Linked DNA regions of Homo sapiens: regions 1, 2, 3, 5, 6 and 7 are each linked to region 4. Evidence: promoter capture Hi-C in 16 types of primary human blood cells and fetal thymus (Javierre and others, 2016). All regions are on one chromosome and are shown on one strand. Each heading gives the region's core, a stretch centred on a gene start or on the middle of the fragment in contact. The rest is flanking DNA. Distances are from core to core; before and after follow the strand shown. Region 1 overlaps ZNF540 (zinc finger protein 540). Region 2 overlaps ZNF146 (zinc finger protein 146). Region 3 holds the start of ZNF345 (zinc finger protein 345). Region 4 holds the start of ZNF180 (zinc finger protein 180). Region 5 overlaps ZNF570 (zinc finger protein 570). Region 6 overlaps ZNF175 (zinc finger protein 175). Region 7 overlaps ZNF829 (zinc finger protein 829).

Region 1 (2,700 bases), core at 13-2,512, 6.9 Mb before region 4:
AGATCTGAGGTGTAATGAAACCAAGAATGGAATCATTTGACTACACGTAGGAAAGCACTGCAGTTTTCCACAGATCCTGTGTCTGTAGATAAATGCAGTTTAATATTGATTGGCCTCAGTTTCAGTATGTGGTTGGGGCCTGCTTATAGAGAGGCCAGGGGATCTTTCCTGAGAATCTCTGAGGTGAAAACCCATAGTAAGACGCATTTTGTGGTTAAACGGAATGTGCTAGTCTTGACATCAGTATGATTCTGGTTCATTACATCAATATTCTTAATCTCAAGAAAAAAGAAGGTGTGTAGTACTTATAAGAAAATCATCCAGATACATAAATATTAGTTAATTGTATTCTCCCAGATTTGCAGTGAGGTACTATGGCCTCGAACTTCTGAGTTCACCACTGTACTCCAGCGTGGGCAACAGAGTGAGATCTCCGTCTCGATTGATCAATCGATTGATCGATAGATAGATAGATAGATAGATAAACTTAAAGGAAAAAGAGGATATAGGATTCTTTTTTATGTATTAAGTGGTTTTTCTTAAAGTATTTATTATTAAGTAATAATTTATTGAGAATTTTTGAGGTAGAAATATAGTTTATTTGCTTGTATCCACTGTTTAATTGAATTGGGAAACATTTATTTGTTCCCAGAAATGTTTTGAGTAGTTAAAGAACCCCATAATATACAGGAAATTTTGCATATAGTGGCTGGATTCTTCAAGAAAATGAGGTGACTCTGCTTTAGAACACCTGGTTCCTTTCTTCTATCTTTATCATAAGCTTTCAGCCCCAGCCTAGAGTTTAGTATAGTACCCCTTGCTGCAATGAAACCTTTTATCTCCTTTTCTTCTTTTTAAAATACTTGTTCTGTAATTTCACCAGTAATATGTTGGTTTATGGTTTCAGGCATTGGTGACGTTCAGGGATGTGGCTATAGACTTCTCTCAGAAGGAATGGGAGTGCCTGGACACTACCCAGAGGAAATTGTACAGAGATGTGATGTTGGAGAATTATAATAACTTGGTCTCACTGGGTAAGGTCACCTATGTCAAATAATGTAGACTCTGTTATCTGAAATAGTAGCTTTCTCTTCCACAAATTTAGGACTAATTATTAAGAAACTAGCTGAATTTCTTCTCTCTTCCTCAAGGAATGGACTGAACTTTGATGGTTTGTGAATGGCACTTCCACTAAATGCTTTCATTTTCACCATACCTCACTGAGCCTCATGAAATGTTCCTTAATCCATTACTGTAGTTACTTCTTCCTTAATAGTTAAGAGACTGGATTTGAATTTTGGGGCATTTACTCCAAAGCCAATGTCAATGAAATCAGGTTTCACATTGCATTTGAGCTCAGAATTGCTATGGATGCTCTGTTATTTGGTAACATGCCTATAAGGATAACAGCCCTACCCAGGGTCTACAATTTACATGTCATGGTTCAGACCAATAACATTGATTTAAAATTAAAGTGAATGCATTCTACTTCCTAAAACAAATATTTTCTCTTACTGATTTGTGATTGAAAATTTTACCTATTGGACATTATGCTCAGTACCTGGGTGGTGGGATCAAATGTACCTCAAACCTCAGCATCACACAATATCCCCAGGTAACAAACCTGCACGTATGGCCCTGTATCTAAAATAAAAGTTGAAATTAGTTAAAGTAAAATAAAATTTATTAACTTAGCATCTAACTTTAAATGAATATCTTAGCAAGAACCTAGAAATATTTTAGGAAGCTTCTTGTTTTGCTCTAAGTAAATTAACAACAACAAAAATAATAATAGCTAATAGAGTGCTTACTATATACCAGGCATCATTCTAAGTACTAGCTACAAGATACAAAAGAAAAAAAGAAAATAAAAGGTACTACTTTTATTTTCATTTTACAGATGAAAAAACTGAGGCCCAAATAATTTAACCAGTTTGTTTACAATCATTAGTCAATAGGTAGTAGAGTAGAATTTGGACCCACATAGTCTGGCTTCAGAGGCTATGCCCTCAATAACTACTGCCTCTCAATAGAGCCAGTCTGTATGAGTTTTAATTCCAAAATGAATTAAAATTCTCCTAGATGAATTTTAATTCCCCTGCCCATCAAGTTTCTTTATTCTCTGGGATCCTGAGGTTACACTAAGTTGAATATTCTTTAATCCTGTCAGTTTTTTCCGAAGTCTTCATCGAAATCATGTTGATCCATATAAATTTAACCAAGTCTCAAAATGTTTCTGAATGTGCAATGTTTTATTTCTATATATTCTTTTATTTCTTTCTTGTAAGCAGGATATTCTGGCTCAAAGCCAGATGTGATTACCTTACTGGAGCAAGGGAAAGAGCCCTGCGTGGTGGCGAGGGATGTGACAGGAAGACAGTGCCCCGGTGAGTTGAGAGTTCATCAGGCAGATGGAAGCCCTCATTGCCAGTCACGGCCAGCTGGTGAGGGAGCATATACAGGCTTTGCATGCTGTTTAGGGAGTTACTCTCAGAGGCCTCAGGCCTTTGGAGTAAAGGTTAAGACAGGGAAGAAAACAGATCATCTGAGCATGAACTATCAAAAGAACCTCATCTTGGCTCCTACTTACCACCTGTCTTTGTTTTTGTTTCCCCTCGTATTACTCTCCATTTCAGTAAAGGGAATGCTCTTTCCTAGTGCAATCAATTGCTTCCTATCTTTTCTCCATTGACATGTGTG
Region 2 (2,700 bases), core at 33-2,532, 8.3 Mb before region 4:
CCAAGTTAATATCTATAAATAAATAGCCTTCTAATTTACAAATATCAGTTAGAATACATAGTTGAAGAAAACTAATATTTACAATAGCAGTAAAAAGATAAAGTATTGTGGAAGAAACTTAAAGGTTCAGAACTATTAGGAAAGAACTTTAAAATACTACTAAGGGGCATAACAAATGTGAACAAATAAATATACCATGTGACATTAAGAAGTGTGCGCAAACTTAAGTGAATGTATTAATTTACTGTGATCTTGGTCGGGTGCGGTGGCTCATGCCTGTAATCCTAGCACTTTGGGAGGCCGAGATGGGTGGATTACCTGAGATCAGGAGTTCGAGAGGAGCCTGGCCAACATGGTGAAACCCTGTCTCTACTAAAAAAAAATAAAATAAAAAAATACAAAAATTAGCCGGGCGTGGTGGCGGGCGCCTGTAATCTGAGCTACCGCGGAGGCTGAGGCAGGAAAATCGCTTGAACCTGGGAGGCGGAGGTTGCAGTGAGCCCAGATCTCGCCACTGCACTCCAGCCTGGACAAGAGCGAGATTCCGTCTCAATAATAGTAATAATGTGATCCTAATAAAAGTATGGACAGGCTTTTCTCTTTTGGAACTAGGGGAACTGATCCTAGACTTACTATGGAAAGAGACAAGCTGCAAGAGCCAGTACAGACTGAGAAAGAAAAGGCGTTGAGGTGTGGGGAGATGGGGACCCAACACATTTTAAATATAAAGCCTCAGGCCGGGCTTGGTGGCTCACACCTGTGAGCCAAGGCAGGAGGATGGCTAGAGTCCAGGAGTTAGAGACCAGCTTGGGCGACATAGTGAGATCTCCCGTAGTCCTAGCTGCTTGGGAGGCTGAGGTGGGAGGATCACTTGAGCCTAGGAGGTCAAGGCTGCAGTGAGCAGAGATCCTGGCGACAGCATTCCAGCTTGGTGGACAGCCAGTCCCTGTCTTTTTTTTTTTTTTTTTTTTTTTTTGAGATGGAGTCTCTCTCTCTTGCCCAGTCTAGAGTGCAGTGGCCCAATCTCTGCTCCCTGCAACCTCTGCCCCCCAGGTTCAAGCGATTCTCTTGGCTCAGCCTCCCGAGTAGCTGGGATTAGTTGCCTGCCACCACACCCGGCTACTTTTTTTGTATTTTTAGTAGAGACAGGGTTTTACCATGTTGGCCAGGCTGGTCTTGAACTCTTGACCTCAAGTGATCGGCCCGCCTCGGCTTCCCAAAGTGCTAGGATTACAGGCATGAACCACGGTGCCTGGCCGACCCTGTCTTAAGAAAGAAAGAAAGGAGAGAGAGAGAAGAAAGAAAAGAAAAACAGTTCATGCCCATCAGTGGGAGATTGGTGTACATCGATACAACAAAATAATACATAGCTGTACAAAAGAATGAGGAGGAAGCTCTTTATATACTGAGACAGAAATAACTTCAAAATGTATTGTTAACTGAGAGAAAGCAAGGTGCAGAATGTAGAGTATGATACACGATGCATTTGGAATAAGAAAAGGGGTAATAAGAATATGTATTTATAATCCCAGCACTTTGGGAGGCCAACGCAGGCGGATCACCTGAGGTCAGGAGTTTGAGACCAGCGTGACCAACATGGAGAAACCCCGTCTCTACTAAAAATACAAAATTAGCCAGGCGTGGCGGCACATGCCTGTTAATCCCAGCTACTTGGGAGGCTGAGGCAAGATAATTGCTTGAACCCGGGAGGCGGAGGTTGCAGTGAACAGAGATTGCGCCATTGCACTCCAACCTGGGCAACGAGAGTGAAACTCCATCTCAAAAAAAAAAAAAAAAATTCAAAAGATACATACGAAATAATAAAACTGGCTGTTGGGGTGGGGGTACTGGAATAGACAGGGCAAAGGCTTTGTATTTTTAGTAGAGACGGGGTTTCACCATGGTGACCAGGCTGGTCTCGAACTCCTGACCTCATGTGATCTGCCTGCCTCAGCCTCCCAAAGTACTGGGATTACAGGCATGAGCTAATTTTTTTTTTTTTTTTTTTAAATTAAAGGAAGACATAGGCCAAGGAGCCAGACTTCCTGTGTTAACTCCTTCCTCTGCCACTTTTTACCTTGGGGACCTCAGGTAGGTACTTAAACCTTGGGCCTCAGTTGCTCATTTCATAGTATAGAAATAATAGCAATATTTGATTCAAAGGGTGGTTGTGTAGCTCCAGAAGTTAATACATGTAAAGTTCTAAGAATAGTCCCCAGTGTGTAGTAAGTACTTGATTAATGTTAAATACTAGTACTTTTTATTACTAGCTGCAAAAAAAATGCTTCCTCAGAAAATATTATAGTCCTGTGTCTGGTAGGAATTTCTGAAAGAATAAGATATGTAGATGCACTTTTGTTATTAATATTTCTTTTTTTTTTTTGATGGAGTCTCACTGTCGCCCAGGCTGCAGTGCAGTGGCCTGATCTCGGCTCACTGCAGGCTCTGCCTCCCTGGTTCATGCCATTCTCCCGCCTCAGCCTCCTGAGTAGCTGGGACTACAGGTGCCAGCCACCACGCCTGGCTAATTTTGTTTTTGTATTTTTAGTAGAGATGGGGTTTCACCGCGTTAGCCAGGATGGTCTGGATCTCCTGACCTTGTGATCCACCTGCCTCAGCCTCCCAAAGTCCTGGCATTACAGGCGTGAGCCACTGCGCCCGGCCTAATATTTCTATATTTTAATTTTTTTACTTAAAATT
Region 3 (2,700 bases), core at 78-2,577, 7.6 Mb before region 4:
GTACTCTAGTTCAGAAGAAATGTCTGAATGTTAAATGTTTACATAAAAAATGCTATTTTATTATATCAGTAATGGAGCTTCCCCCCTTTAAAACTGCTGCACCAGGAAGATACAACCTTGTTATCACAATTTAAAGAGAAAATGAGACTTGGAGGTTCAGATTCCTCCACAGTCATAGTATCAGCTACCCACGCAGTGACCCACATTCAGGTGATTACACACACTCATACACAGATCCATACACGATCTTGCCCCCCCCACCTCCACACACTCAATATGACCTCCCCACGCCCAAAGCTGCACACATCTTGACCTCACTTCTCTCACACACACACCAATCTGACCCGCACGCGGTTTCTTTCACTCAACTACCCAGACACCCCTCATCCCACCAGCACAAGCAGGCCCACCGCGGTCTCACACACACTCGAGCCTTCCTTTGCCCAGTCTCACATGCATGACTGGGATCGCGGATTTGTCCCCTTCCGACTCCCCATGCTGGTTCGGTCCCAGACGCTCAGGTGCCACATTGGGGTGCGCTCTCCCGGCTCCTCCACACGCTACGCAGCTGCCCGCCTCAAGAGCGTCTGCGTGCTTCCAGCGTTAAGTGGAATTCCAAGCAGCCTCCGGGGCACAGTTAGTCTGGTCACTGCGGCCAGACTGCCGCCTCAGGACCCAGAGAACGCAGCACACTTTAGTTGGGCCCATCTATCCCCGGCGAGGCTTGGACTACGTTTCCCAGGAGACCCTGCGGTCCAGTATGTCTCCCGAGGAGGGGCGGAAGCCCGGGAGCCGCCCTCTGAGGCTGGGCGGGGTGAAAGAAAGCTTGCCCCAGAGGACTTAAACAGGCAAGAAGGACTTGGTTAAAGACTATTGCAATAGTCAACTTCCAATACAACAGCAGCTGGAGATTTATAGCTAACGGGCTGGGTGAAGGAGTTAAAGGATGCTAAATTACTAAGAGGAAGTTAAGTATCAAGAGTGGGGGGATTGTTACTAAACTGGCTTAGCTGGATTCTTGCTGAAGTGCTGTTCGCAGGCTATGGAGGAGGCCTGGCCAAGCAAAAAGGGCTCAGAGGAGCCTGACTAAAGCTTGGTCTAGGGACTCCTTGTCAGGTGAGACTCCCGGAAGGCTCCGATGGGCAGCTCACCTCAAAGAGATAGTTTTGTTGGTGCCAGAGTCCGCGCCAGGGGAATCGGGATGGCTGGGCTGTAGCTTTCGGCAACCTGTCGCTTTCTGGACTACACTTCCCAGAAGCCTCTAGGCCCAGGGCACTCTCCCGCGATAACTAGATTGTCTCTTGAGGAGTGGGCGGGATCTTCCCGCGGATTTGGGCAAGCGGCCTTGGGGCTTTGTGAGATAGCTAGGGTCGACTTGTGTGGATTCTAGTAGAACGGAGCTGACCCTATCCGAACAGGCGTAAGTGAGGCGGCTCGGAGCCTGGCGCGACAGGAACTCCCGACCTGTGTGGGCTGCGTGGGGAACAGGCTAAGGAGCGATTGTGAGGAGTGTGTACGGTTGTGACTGGGGGCGTGTGTCTGTGCGACCGTGTATGGAACTGTGAGGGCGGGGAGGAGGACTTTTTGTTTATGTTTGTGCGGGTGTGAGTAGAGTTTAATTGTGACCGGGTTGGGCACTGTGTTTGCGAGTGTGAGGTTCCTGGACCGCGGTTGTGACTGTATGTCCCCTTGGGGTGTGTGTGTGTGTGTTTACTACCATTTGCCGAACTGTGTGTAGTATGCCTTAATTTTGAGGTTTGTGGCTGCTTCCGTGTGTGTGTGTGCGCGCGCGTTGGTGATATTGTTGATGGAGGGTGCGTGTGAATTTGTTGTCATTGTGACCCCAAGGTGTATGTCACTGGGAATTTGAGAGATGCCCACGGACTCTGTGGTTGTGTCCGTGTCTACCCCCGTGGTGTGTATGAGTGTGTGATTGTGTGTTGTGTTTAGGTTTGGGGTGCCTGTGACGTTTATGTCCCTGCGGTGTGAGTGAGTTTGTGTGACTATGTGTCCGTATAGCCAATGTAGGTATGGGGAGTCTTTGTCTTTGTGACTTCAGCCATTGGAGACCCCTGTGAGCTCAGGGACAGGTTCTGCCCAGAACGGCATTGACCCTACCGTTGTCTGTGATGCCCGGATTAAGCAGGATGCCCTAGACTTCTCTGACCTTCCTCTGTAGGTGATGGGCAGTAGGGGCTGAGCAAAGATAACTTCTGACATAGTCAAACCAACTCCCTCTCAGAAGAACCTGATGTTTCCTGACTGCTTTCTCCTTCCTCAGCCCTGCCCTGCTTGGATAGAGGCCTCCGAACAGGAGTAAAGAATGGCTGTTGAACATCCACAAGGCACCTGCAAGGTAGCTTGTCCTGTCCTCTTGTTTAAGAAAAATCCCTTTTTCTTTGTCAGGACATAGTTGCTTTCCTTCTCTTGAAAATTCTTGCCTATGAGATGACCTGATCCCTGGAGTTTCCATTTTGAGAAAATGTGGTGTCTTCAAACCCCACCTCCCACACCTGATTTTCCCTTACTGATTTGTCAGATGGTTTTAATTTTTCTTTTTCTTTTTTTTTTCTTTCTTTCTTTTTTTTTTTTTTTTTTTGAGACAGAATTACAGGCGTGAGCTGCTGTGCCCGGCCTTATCCTTCTACTCTTGATGGACATTTGTCTTGTAATTTTTGGCTACTACAGGCAGTGTGACTA
Region 4 (2,700 bases), core at 85-2,584:
GTTCTCGAGCCTACGATACAGCAGCTCAATGGGAACTGGGCCCTTTGTCCTTCTCTTGCCCAATCATGACGGCCTGGGTGTTGTGCAGTCAGCTCTTCCCGGGACCAAATCTGCAGCACAGGCTCTGTCCCTCTACTAACCTGCACATTCTCACGCCTGCAAATAGCGTACCCAAGTAAAGGTCTCAGCAACACCTGCTTCATAACGATGCTGGCAACATACTGCTTCCTCCCCAGCTACCAATTTGATGGCAGCTGTTGCAGCTCTGTCCTTCCTGGACTTAAATTCTGTATCTCCAACCCGGAGTCTCTGCCCATCTTGAATGCTCTAGAGCTCTGCACTATCCTACATAGGTCCCTACTATCAGTTCAAGTTTCTGTTTTCCATTCAGACACCCCCAGGACGTGCAGGGGGCCCTCTGCCCAGAACCTGTTTCTAGGCCCTGATACCCTCCTTCAGCCTGGGAGTTTGCTGCCCATGGGTAATTCCCACCAAGGGTTCACTAGCAACACTGCCTCTTCTGGCACAAGAATCTGCAACTCCAATCTGGTCTCTCCACCAACCACAGCGCCCCCAGACCTTGGAGAAGCGCGTTGTCTGCTCTAGGGGCCCAGAGCCACCTGCTCGGAATCTTACCTACAACCTTTTGCTTCCTACCCAAATACCTGATCAAGAGTAAAGGGACAGTGGCACAGCCCCTCCTCTCCAGAAACCACAATCTGCAATGGAGCACTCCATCAACCCGGACATCCTCAGGCCTCCACTAAATAAGCCCGGCATTGGAGGAGGGGAGTTCTCAAGATGTCCCCTTACATCAATGCATGTGCCCTGTGTTCCAGCAACCTGGGCATCCTCAGGCCCCAGACAAGAGCACCACCTGACCAAGCACCCGCGCATGCACGCAGAGGACAGTCGCGGAATATACAGCTGTATCAGTAACTCCATCAACCCCGGTGACCCGAGGCTAAAGCGCCACCCGCACAGATACCAGGTCTCCCCGCTACACTCACCACCGCTTCCAGCTTCCCGCGTAGACCCTGCGCATGCGCGCATCGGACACCAAGCGCTGCCCCACGCCCCTACCAACCTGGGCGTCCGCTGGCCCGCAGCCCAGGCTGGGCCTGTCACCGCCTCAGTGCCTAGCACGGCTCTGCGGCAGGACGAACTCGGGTTAGGCAACCCCCTGCCCCGATTCTGCAACACGGCCGACTCGGGTTAAGCTAGTTCGGTCCCCTCTCCTAGTCAGCATCCGCAAGGCCGCTGGGGGTTAAGTCTGAAGGGCCGAGCTGCTCGGCGACAGCAAGCGTCCGCGCGCGGGACAATGGCTGCTCTTGTGGCCGAACCCGGAAGTGCACTTGGGCTCGGAGAGCCAGAACTACAATTCCCAGAAGCCTCCGCGGCGCGGACGGTCAGTAGGCGGGGTTCCGGCTTCTCCAAGGAAGTGGGGCGGGGGACCGGGCCAGAAGCTAAGAGGGCGTCCTCGTCCGGGGCCCGGGGGGGCGCCACACCTGTGCATGTGCAGGTCTAGGGGGAGCACTAAGACCAGCCGCGGCGCCGGGAGGCCGAGGCCAGTGCAGCGACGCATGGGGAGTCGCTCTGGCGTGACGTCAGAATCCAATAGAAATGGCGGGGACCCTTTCTGGGTGCCCCCTGCCTGTCAGACGCTGCGCGCGACCCCTTGTCTCCTCTAGTCCTAGGGGAAACCTGTGAGACAGTTGCGACATCCCCATTTTACAGTGGAGGGAGCGTCTACCGAACCCTTCAGGAATCTATGTTTTTACATTTAATAATACTAAAATATAATCATTTTATTTTTAAATTTTGAGTTCTTTCTCTGCCTATAAGGCCTGAAGGATCTGTTCCCCCCACCTCTCCCCTTTTCTCTGTTTTTGTTTTGTTTTGTTTTGTTGTTTTGAGACGGAATTTCGCTCTTGTCGCCCAGGCTGGAGGGCAATAGCGCGATCTCGGCTCACTGCAACCTCCACCTCCCGGATTCAAGCGATTCTCCTGCCTCAGCCTCCTGAATAGCTGGGATTACAGGCGCCAGCCACCACGCCCGGCTAATTTTTGTATTTTTAGTAGAGACGGGGTTTCACCACGTTGGCCAGGTTAGTCTCCAACTCCTGACCTCAGGTGATCCGCCCTCGGCCTCCCAAAGTGCTGGGATTACAGGCGTAGTCCCCTTTTCTCTTTGCCCTCATTTCTTGCCCATTTGCTTGGCACATTTTCCCCATTCTCCAACAGATCCAGCAGACTCCAGCCCCTGGTCGTTTGCAGGTGCTCTTTGCACTCCCTAGCAGCCTCTCCTGAGGGATTCATTTGGCTCTCACCGTCTGGTAATTAGGGGAATATCATCTTCTCATGAGGCATTGCCCCACCACCCGTTGTGAACTTGCAAGCAAACGCTTCCCTCCCCACATGCTCTGTGCCTCCCCCTTCATCTTTTATTTTTTTCTCTAAAGAACTTTTCACTATCTAGCACACTATATATTTTAATTATTTATTTGGTCTACTGTCCGACCTACCACTACGATGTCAATTCCATAAGGAAAAGCATTTTATCGATGTTGATCACTGCTGCATCCCCAACACCTAAAAAAAAAAAAAAGAGAGAGACCTGGCACATAATAGATGCTCAATAAATATTCGTTGGCTAAATAAAGGTTCCTGTCTCTGTATTAAACACTTTAATATTTCATT
Region 5 (2,700 bases), core at 41-2,540, 7.0 Mb before region 4:
ATATGATAACATGGTTACATATTTGAGGATGTAATATCAGAGAGAGCCCAGTGTGCCTAGGGCAGAGGAAATGAGGTGAATATGGTAAGAGATAAGGTTCTTCCATTTATTTCATTTCAGGAGTTGGTGACCTTCAGAGATGTGGCTGTAGACTTCTCCCAAGAGGAATGGGATTGTCTGGATTCTTCTCAAAGACATCTGTACAGTAATGTGATGCTAGAGAACTACAGGATCTTGGTATCACTGGGTAAGGATATCTTCTTGCAAAACTGAGCTTCTGCTCAAAAGGGGCTCTTTGCTACCACTATTGTGAATTTTTGGATAATATCTGCAAAATTTGGCTGAATGTCTGCTGCCTATGCCAAACAAATGGCTTAGTGTTTGTGGATTTGGCAGTGAACATATTCTTGGCCTGTGCCTGAAGCTTCATCTTCCTTATCCTTCTAATACATGTCCTTTACACATTTCTCTTTTTGCTTACTGTAAACTCCCTTTTCCCTGATGAGCTAAGGATTGAATGTGAGTTCTGGAATATCCACAGCATGACAAAACTCTACTTTTTTTTTTCGTATTTGCAGGACTTTGCTTTTCCAAACCAAGTGTGATATTATTGTTGGAACAAGGAAAAGCACCCTGGATGGTGAAGAGAGAGCTGACAAAAGGCTTGTGCTCAGGTTAGTGAAGAGGAAATTGGCAAAAATCTTTGCACGTGACAGCTCAGCTTGACTCAAAGGTATCACCTCTTCACTCTTCAGGCTTCCAAATTCTTCTCAAATGTTCTAGGTTTTCATAAAAATTTGGGGCCATTTAGGATGTTCTCCCACATTTGTTATTTTTAATTATTTCCCTTCTCTTACTTTCCTATCTCCTTTCTAACAAGTCCCATCCCCTCTCAGTTTCATAAGCCTCTCAGTCTTTAAAAAATCTTGTAGTAGTCTTATAAACTTTTTTTTTTTTTTTTTTTTTTGTGACAGAGTCTCGCTCTGTCACCCAGGCTGGAGTGCAGTGGTGCAGTCTCGGCTCACTGCAAGCTCCGCCTCCCGGGTTCAAGCAATTCTCCTGATTCAGCCTTCCCAGGAGCTGGAATTACAGGCACATGCCACCACGCCCAGCTAATTTTTGTATTTTTAGTAGAGACAGGGTTTCTCCATGTTAGGCTGGTCTCAAACTCCTGACCTCACGTGATCTGCCTGCCTCAGCCTTCCAAAGTGCTGGCATTACAGGCATGAACCACTGTGCCTGGCCTCTTATAAATTTTTGAGCTCTACAGAGCATCAGAAGTGTAGGCAGCCTTGGGGACTGAGTCCTCAACCTGAGGGATCTGATGCTATCTCCAGGTAGACAGTATCAAAATAGAGCTGAGGTAGAGGACACCCACTGCAGAATTCATTGCTTGCTTGTTGGTGGAGAGAAACCCCCACATTCAGTCACAGAAGCCTTCTGTGTTTATTGTTGTGGTGCGAGAGAAAAGGAAAAACAGGTTGCATGTGTGATTTTTCCTAAGGTGCTCATTGTGGGGGAGGTTGTCGTGTGTGTGTGTGTGTGTGTGTGTGTGTGTGTGTGTGTGTGTGTATTTGTAACTTTTTTTTTTTTTTTTGAGACAGAGTCTCGCTCTGTTGCCCAGGCTGGAGTACAGTGGCATGATCTCGGCTCACTGCAACCTCTGCCTCCTGGGTTCAAGTGATTCTCCTGCCTCAGCCTCCCCAGTAACTGGAACTACAGGCACCCACCACCACGCCTGGCTAATTTTTTTGTATTTTTAGTAGAGACGAGGTTTCACCATGTTGGCCACGCTGGTCTCCAACTCCTGATCTCAGGTGATCCGCCAGCCTCAGCCTTCCAAAGTGCTGGGATTACAGACGTGAGCCACTGCACCCAGCCTGTAGCTTATGTTTTTGATACTTTAAGAAACCTTTCTATGTTCTGAGTTCATATAGATATCTGAAAATAGTCTTTTAAAGATTGTCCTTTTATATGTAGGTCCATAATCCAATTGGAACTTATTTTTGAGGATTATTTTAAATAAGAATTTAATTTCTGTATCTTATGGAAAACCAAAGGTCCCAGATATTTTTTGAATAAGTGTTCCCTCTGCCTGTTTTTCTGAATGTTACCTCTTAATATACCAGGTTTTAGTCTATATATGGGTTTGACTTTAAGCTTTATTCAGTTTCATTGATCTCTGTTTCCTTATACCAGTACCACACTGTCTTAATAAAAATAGTTTATTAGAAGGATAATTATCTGCTAGGGAAAATCTCTACAGCTTGTTTAAATTCTTTAGAATTTCTTGTTTGCCCTTTGGACATCAATATAAAGTTTAGGGTCAACTTGTAAATTTCTATCAGAAAACAACAAAATGCTGTTAACTTTTGATTCAAATTTTAACTTTTGATTCAAATTTTATTTATTCTGTAATCAATTCTGGAAATTTTAAAAATTCATTAACATGGTATAGCTCTCCATTTATTTAGGTTTTTTCACTTTTTTCAGTGTTTTATAATTTTCTCCAAAAAAGGCTTTGCACATCTTCTGTTAGATTAAATTGTAAACATTAAACATATTAGTTTTGTTGCTGTGTTAAATGTTATCTATATTTTCTGTTTGTTGCTCATATATAGAAATGAAATTAACTTCGTATGCATTGGCCTTATATCCAGCAACCTTGCCAATCTCTCCTGTTAATAATATTTTTAAATA
Region 6 (2,700 bases), core at 24-2,523, 7.1 Mb after region 4:
GCAACAGAAAGAGGAAATGGTGTTTCTGGAAGCTGGCCACGTATGGGTACATGAGATAGTGGAGACAGTGTACAGTTTAGAACAAGGCAGATGTGGGGCTGATTCCCTGTTTTTCCATTTACAGACTGAGTAACCTTCAGGCAAATTATGTAACAGCACACAGCCTCATTATCCTCATCCTCAAAATGGGTATGATAATGCCCATGATATTTAGCTGACAATTAAATTGACAACTTTCTTTTTTTAATTCATATTTATCACGTGCCAGGCAGGCACTGAGGACTTGACAAGCTTCATCTTGGTTAAGTTTCCCAACATCTGTGATAAATACCTGCATTTTCATTTTGGAAACTACAACTAAAGTAATATTTTCATATTCTCACAGTGAAAATGTGGCAAAGCTGCAATGAATTCACCATTTAGTCCAGACTCAGTCTTTATTTTTAACCCTGACTAATAACTAGAGTTGGGCTTTCTGAACTTTGTCTACTCCAATGTCTGACACAGTGACTTCACCTCAGTGCCCTCAGGAAATATTTGTGGAGTGAATGTTGAATGAGTGACCATGTACTCATTGCTTTTCCAAGGCTTCTGCAGAACCCCCAGGTCAGGCCACATCATTGAGGCTGCAGGATCTCTCTTCATAGCCCAGTACGACTCTCCGCCGTGTCCCTGGTTGGAAAATCCAAACACCTATCCAGCTTCTGGCTCCTGGGAAAAGTGGAGTTGTCAGCAAGAGAGACCGAGAGTAGAAGCCCAGAGTGGAGATGCCTGCTGATGTGAATTTATCCCAGAAGCCTCAGGTCCTGGGTCCAGAGAAGCAGGATGGATCTTGCGAGGTAAACAGGGGCAGCCCTGGGGATAGTTCTCCAGAACGTGAGGGCAGACACAGGATGCAGCAGGTCTGGGCTCCCTGCTCCTGAGTCAGTCTTGAGCCTCCTGTCAAGCGAGGACCACAGAGGCTGATGTTTCCACATTCATAGGCTATCTGTGTTCTAGAGGAAACCATGAACTGGCTGATAAAAGAGGATAGTAGAGGGTTGGCCTTGGGTCAAGAAAGAAGAAACTGTAGTCCCTGGTCTGATCAGAAGCCCCAGTCATAGGATGGAAAAGCTGACTCTTTCCTGCTAAGCACTGGTTCTGCTCCTTCATCCACCACTGGGTCTTTGAAAAATTTCAAGTGGTCCCCCCCACCAAATTCCTTGCTTGGTCCATGGGGTTTGGCCCGTTTTTCCTCTGTTCTCATAAGGTGCGGCAAAATCTCCTTCCTTTGTAATTTAAATAGTCACAGGGAGGTAGAGTGAGAAGAGGCTTTTAAGGACCATGTGAAGAGGCTTTTAAACACTTTTTCCTGTTTAAAAAGGTGAACAAAAAATGCTGGAAAACAGTGTTTCCAGATTGCCCACAGATAGAAATAGTCAGGATTTGGTAACAAGAAATCAGAATTCTTGGTATAGTCAAGATTTCCTGAAATCCTAAATTATTCTGTGTATCTCTTGATGCTTTATTTACAAGTCTTTAAATAGTATGTGACTATAATAGTAAACAGTGTACCATTGTTCTGTGATGGGTTTATAACCAAATTTACAGAGATGTTCTGTTTTTTAAAAAAAGTATAATAAATATGTGTGTTATTATCCTGAACCAATATATTGTGAGATTATATATTTCAGTAACCTGTTAAAATCATCTCAACCTGCTAGAAACATTTGATAATAGAAAGTATTAAAAGAAGGGAACATTAACACAAAATAAATTGCACATATAAATCATTTTCAAAATTGTAAATACCCCAAATATTTAAAAGTCGTTCTTAAAAGAAAAATTGAAACATACAAGTTTAGGTGGGGCACAGTGGCTCATGCACTTTGGGAGGCCGAGGCGGGCGGATCACTTGAGCCCAGGAGTTGGAGACCAGCCTGGGCAACATGGCGAGACTCTACAAAAATACAAAAATTAGCCAGGTGTGGTGGCATGCACCTGTAGTCCCAGCTACTGAGTACGTTGACGTGGGAGGATCACCTGAGCTTGAGGCGGTCAAGGTTGCAGTGAGCTGCAATCATGACACTACACTCCAGCCTGGGCAATAGAGTGAGACCCTGTCTCAAAACAAAACAAGTTTAAAACATGAAATTGTCTAAGTCTTTGTGACAGCAGTGCAGATGCACAAACGTTTCTCTCATTTGCATTGATGTTGGTCAACTTGCGTGTTCAGAACATCTTCAAGTTTAGCGTTTTAGGACACATGTTCAATATAAGCTTTTTTCCTTTTTTAACAATGAAATTTTTTTTCTGCTTGACCTGATTTCCAGTTTATCATTTGAATCAATACTGCTGTCGCTAATTCAGATTTTCCATCAGTGTCTGAATTCATGTCAGAGTATATCCCAGTACCATGCACATTATCTTCTCTTTGTGGTGTGTATTTCCCTCTGCTCTGGACAGTACTATTTTTATTTTGTTATTTTTATCTTTTCTAATGTGATGGAAATAAAGATAGTATAGTGTTTTAATTTGCATTACTTTGTTTACAAACAGGCTTTTTTTTCATAATTTTATTGGTCAATTACTTGTCTTTAGTGAGTTACTTTTTCTTACCTTTTGATTTATATTTTGGTTTGGTTTAGCCTCCGGATTTTTAGAGAGGTTTTTTTTTTTTTTTTTTTTTTTTTGAGACGGAGTCTCGCTCTGAAGCGCAGG
Region 7 (2,700 bases), core at 34-2,533, 7.6 Mb before region 4:
GCGTCCTATTTGATCTTCTCATTGATGAATCTTATCCTGTAGAAATTATTTACAGCAATGTTCTAGCTCCTACATTAGATAACAAGTTTCTTAATAAGCCTACACATTTTCTAAACTGTACAGCACCTAGCAGACTAGTGTATAAAATTAAAAAGTCAAACATTTTTATAAGACTTGCTATTTAAAAATCTTAATTCTCCACAAACTGATATTAATATTCTCATGAAAAAATAACTTGGCATTTTGATTAAGTTTCAAATGACTATATAAGCTAATTCTAAATTTTTTTTTTTTTTCTTTTGTGAGACCAAGTTTTGCTCTTGTCCCCCAGGCTGGAGTGCAATGGTGTGATCTCGGCTCACTGCAACCTCCGCCTCCCTGGTTCAAGCGATTCTCCTGCCTCAGCCTCCTGAGTAGCTGGGATTACAGGTGCCCGCCACCACACCTGGCTAATTTTTGTATTTTTAGTAAAGATGGGGTTTCACCATGTTGCCCAGGCTGGTCTTGAACTCCTGACCCCAGGTGATCCACCCACCTCGGCCTCCCAAAGTGCTGGGATTACAGGCGTGAGCCACTGCGCCCGGCCTAATACTAAAATTTACAATGAAAATGCAAAGGACTAAGCAGCAGCAGGAGAACTTGCTCTACTAGATAAGATTTATTACATGCTACAGTATTAATATAGTGTGGTATTGGCACAAGGATAGACAAATAAGCCAAAGGAACAGAATTCAGAGATAGACTCACAGAAATAGGAATACCTGATTTATGACAAAGGTAGTCCTATTTCTATTGGGGAAAAGATAGATATAGTCCTATCTCTATAGAATGGGAAAAGGACAGTCATCTCAATAAACACTAAGAAGTCAACTGGATATTCACATGGAAAAAAAATGAAATTTGACCCCTACCTCACAACACATACAAATACCAACTTCAGGAAAGTAGATCTAAATGGAAAAAGTAAAACAATAAAGCTACTAGAATATAACATAGGAAATATCTTCAAGACCTTGGGGTAGGCAATGATTCCTATCCAGGACACAAAAAAGCAACACTATAAAGAAAAAGATAACTGTGACCACATTAAAATTAATAACTTCTGTTCATCAAAAGGTACTATTAAAAGAGTAAAGGGCAAGGTATAAAGTGGTGGGAGATATTTACATCATGTATAACCAAACACAGGGCTGATACATAGAATATAATAAGAATTCTTTGAAACCAACAGGAAAAAGATAGACAACCGACTAAGTTTAGCCAAGAAACTTAAACAGGCATGTCACAGAACACACACATCAGAATAACTAAAATTAAAGGGCCTGGCAATAATAACTGGTAAGAATGTAAGAATGCAGAGCAATAGTAACCTTCATACTGCTAGTAGAACTGCAAATTGGTATAACTACTTTGGAAAATTGGTATATTTACTAAAGTTGAACACACACATATCCTATTGCTCAGTAATTCCACTCCTATGTATATACCTAAAAGAAATGTGTACATACATTTACCAAAAGTTATACACAGGAACGTTCACAGCAGCATTATGTTTAATAGCTAAAAACTGCAAACAAACCAACTGTCAACAGAAGGACACTTATAGTAATTAATAATATATAAAGCATAATTTAAAAAATATTCATAGAATGAAGCAGGACACAGTGGGTTACGCCTGTAATCCCAGCACTTTGGGAGGCTGAGGCGGGTGGATCACCTGAAGTCAGCAGTTTGAAACCAGCCTGGCCAACATGTTGAAACCCTGTCTCTACTAAAAATACAAAAAATTAGCTGGGCGTGGTGGCGCAGGCCTGTAGTTCCAGCTACTCGGGAGGCTGAGACAGGAGAATCGCTTGAACCCAGGAGGCAGAGGTTGCAGTGAGCTGAGATCACACCACTGCACTCCAGCCTGGGCAACAGAGCAAGACTCCATCTCAAAAAAAAAAAAAAAAAAAAAAAATGTATATATATATATATATGTATATATTCATAGAATGAAATATAACATAGCCAATAAGAATGAACTAACACCAGATATATGCAGCACCATAGATATGTCACATAAACATAATGTTGAGCAAAAAAAGCCAAAGGCAAAAGACTAAATACTGTGTGATTGCGTCTATACAAAGTTCAAAAATAGGCAAAACGAATCCATGGTGCCAAATGTCAGGATGGTATTTATTTTGAGAGAGGAAAAAGAGGCTGGTGATTGGGAAGGGGCAGAGAAGGGGTTCTGAGGTGCTAGTAATGTTCTATTTATCGTCCTAGTAGTGGTTTCACCATTCTCAATTTCACCATACTATGCAATCATAGTCATGCAGTTTTATGTGTGTATGTTATACTTCAATTTTGTTTTCAAGTAAGAAATAATCAAATGTTTGATAAATGAAAGAATGAGCTTTTAAATCCAGAACAAACTGGTCAAAGATGTTAAATAGCTGAAAGTAGATAAAATGAAAACAAGCACAGGGAAAGAAAAAGACACACATGCACTTACATCTATTTCTCAGGGTGGGAATGTCTACTGTTATACAAATCTAAACGTAGCGTATCATAGGAAGGAATGAAACTAAAATGTGACTAGAATAATTATAGCATAATTGTAGCCAGGGAGGTACTTGCTATATTGGACTAGGGAAAAAGTATGAGAAAAAAAAAAAAAGTGGGATAGCTTATATGGAAGAGGCTTCAGGCCTT

The links. The method cuts DNA at HindIII sites, captures the fragments that hold promoters and counts their contacts. A CHiCAGO score of 5 or more calls a contact.
Region 1: a contact is called between a fragment that was not itself captured here and the fragment with the promoter of ZNF180 in region 4, in 1 of 17 cell types (activated CD4 T cells). The highest score is 7.9, in activated CD4 T cells.
Region 2: a fragment that was not itself captured here is called in contact with the fragment with the promoter of ZNF180 in region 4 in 1 of 17 cell types (non-activated CD4 T cells); the score reaches 5.1 in non-activated CD4 T cells.
Region 3: a contact is called between the fragment with the promoter of ZNF345 here and the fragment with the promoter of ZNF180 in region 4, in 3 of 17 cell types (total CD4 T cells, monocytes and activated CD4 T cells). The highest score is 12.2, in total CD4 T cells.
Region 5: a contact is called between a fragment that was not itself captured here and the fragment with the promoter of ZNF180 in region 4, in 2 of 17 cell types (non-activated CD4 T cells and total B cells). The highest score is 5.6, in non-activated CD4 T cells.
Region 6: a contact is called between a fragment that was not itself captured here and the fragment with the promoter of ZNF180 in region 4, in 2 of 17 cell types (non-activated CD4 T cells and activated CD4 T cells). The highest score is 9.9, in non-activated CD4 T cells.
Region 7: a contact is called between a fragment that was not itself captured here and the fragment with the promoter of ZNF180 in region 4, in 3 of 17 cell types (total B cells, total CD4 T cells and non-activated CD4 T cells). The highest score is 8.1, in total B cells.

The regions. Positions count from the first base shown.
Region 1 is chr19:37,598,719-37,601,418 of GRCh38, forward strand. It overlaps ZNF540 (zinc finger protein 540), which reads left to right. Exons shown (of 5, transcript NM_001172225.3): 3 at 908-1,034; 4 at 2,292-2,387. Among named protein-coding and RNA genes, the nearest start is that of ZNF540, 5.2 kb to the left of the region's middle. The HindIII fragment of the contact is 966 bases long and covers 780-1,745 here.
Region 2 is chr19:36,216,105-36,218,804 of GRCh38, forward strand. It overlaps ZNF146 (zinc finger protein 146), which reads left to right. Exons shown (of 4, transcript NM_007145.3): 2 at 2,018-2,091. It also overlaps a transcript of ZNF565 not described here. Among named protein-coding and RNA genes, the nearest start is that of ZNF146, 2.3 kb to the left of the region's middle. The HindIII fragment of the contact is 3,004 bases long and covers 1-2,700 here.
Region 3 is chr19:36,849,549-36,852,248 of GRCh38, forward strand. ZNF345 (zinc finger protein 345) reads left to right here and starts at 1,328. Exons shown (of 3, transcript NM_001242472.2): 1 at 1,328-1,420; 2 at 2,282-2,356. It also overlaps a transcript of ZNF790 not described here. RefSeq lists an enhancer at 851-1,090. The HindIII fragment of the contact is 2,588 bases long and covers 1,091-2,700 here.
Region 4 is chr19:44,499,188-44,501,887 of GRCh38, forward strand. It overlaps ZNF180 (zinc finger protein 180), which reads right to left and starts at 1,335. Exons shown (of 5, transcript NM_001278509.3): 1 at 1,088-1,335. RefSeq lists enhancers at 605-1,103, 1,091-1,140, 1,104-1,604, 1,151-1,210, 1,221-1,430 and 2 more. The HindIII fragment of the contact is 10,008 bases long and covers 1-2,700 here.
Region 5 is chr19:37,475,761-37,478,460 of GRCh38, forward strand. ZNF570 (zinc finger protein 570) reads left to right here. Exons shown (of 5, transcript NM_144694.5): 3 at 121-247; 4 at 579-674. Among named protein-coding and RNA genes, the nearest start is that of ZNF570, 7.8 kb to the left of the region's middle. The HindIII fragment of the contact is 1,736 bases long and covers 423-2,158 here.
Region 6 is chr19:51,572,563-51,575,262 of GRCh38, forward strand. ZNF175 (zinc finger protein 175) reads left to right here. Exons shown (of 5, transcript NM_007147.4): 2 at 588-839. The coding sequence starts at 768. Among named protein-coding and RNA genes, the nearest start is that of ZNF175, 2.6 kb to the left of the region's middle. The HindIII fragment of the contact is 1,968 bases long and covers 290-2,257 here.
Region 7 is chr19:36,905,152-36,907,851 of GRCh38, forward strand. All of the region lies in intron 5 of ZNF829 (zinc finger protein 829), which reads right to left. Among named protein-coding and RNA genes, the nearest start is that of ZNF829, 9.8 kb to the right of the region's middle. The HindIII fragment of the contact is 3,429 bases long and covers 1-2,700 here.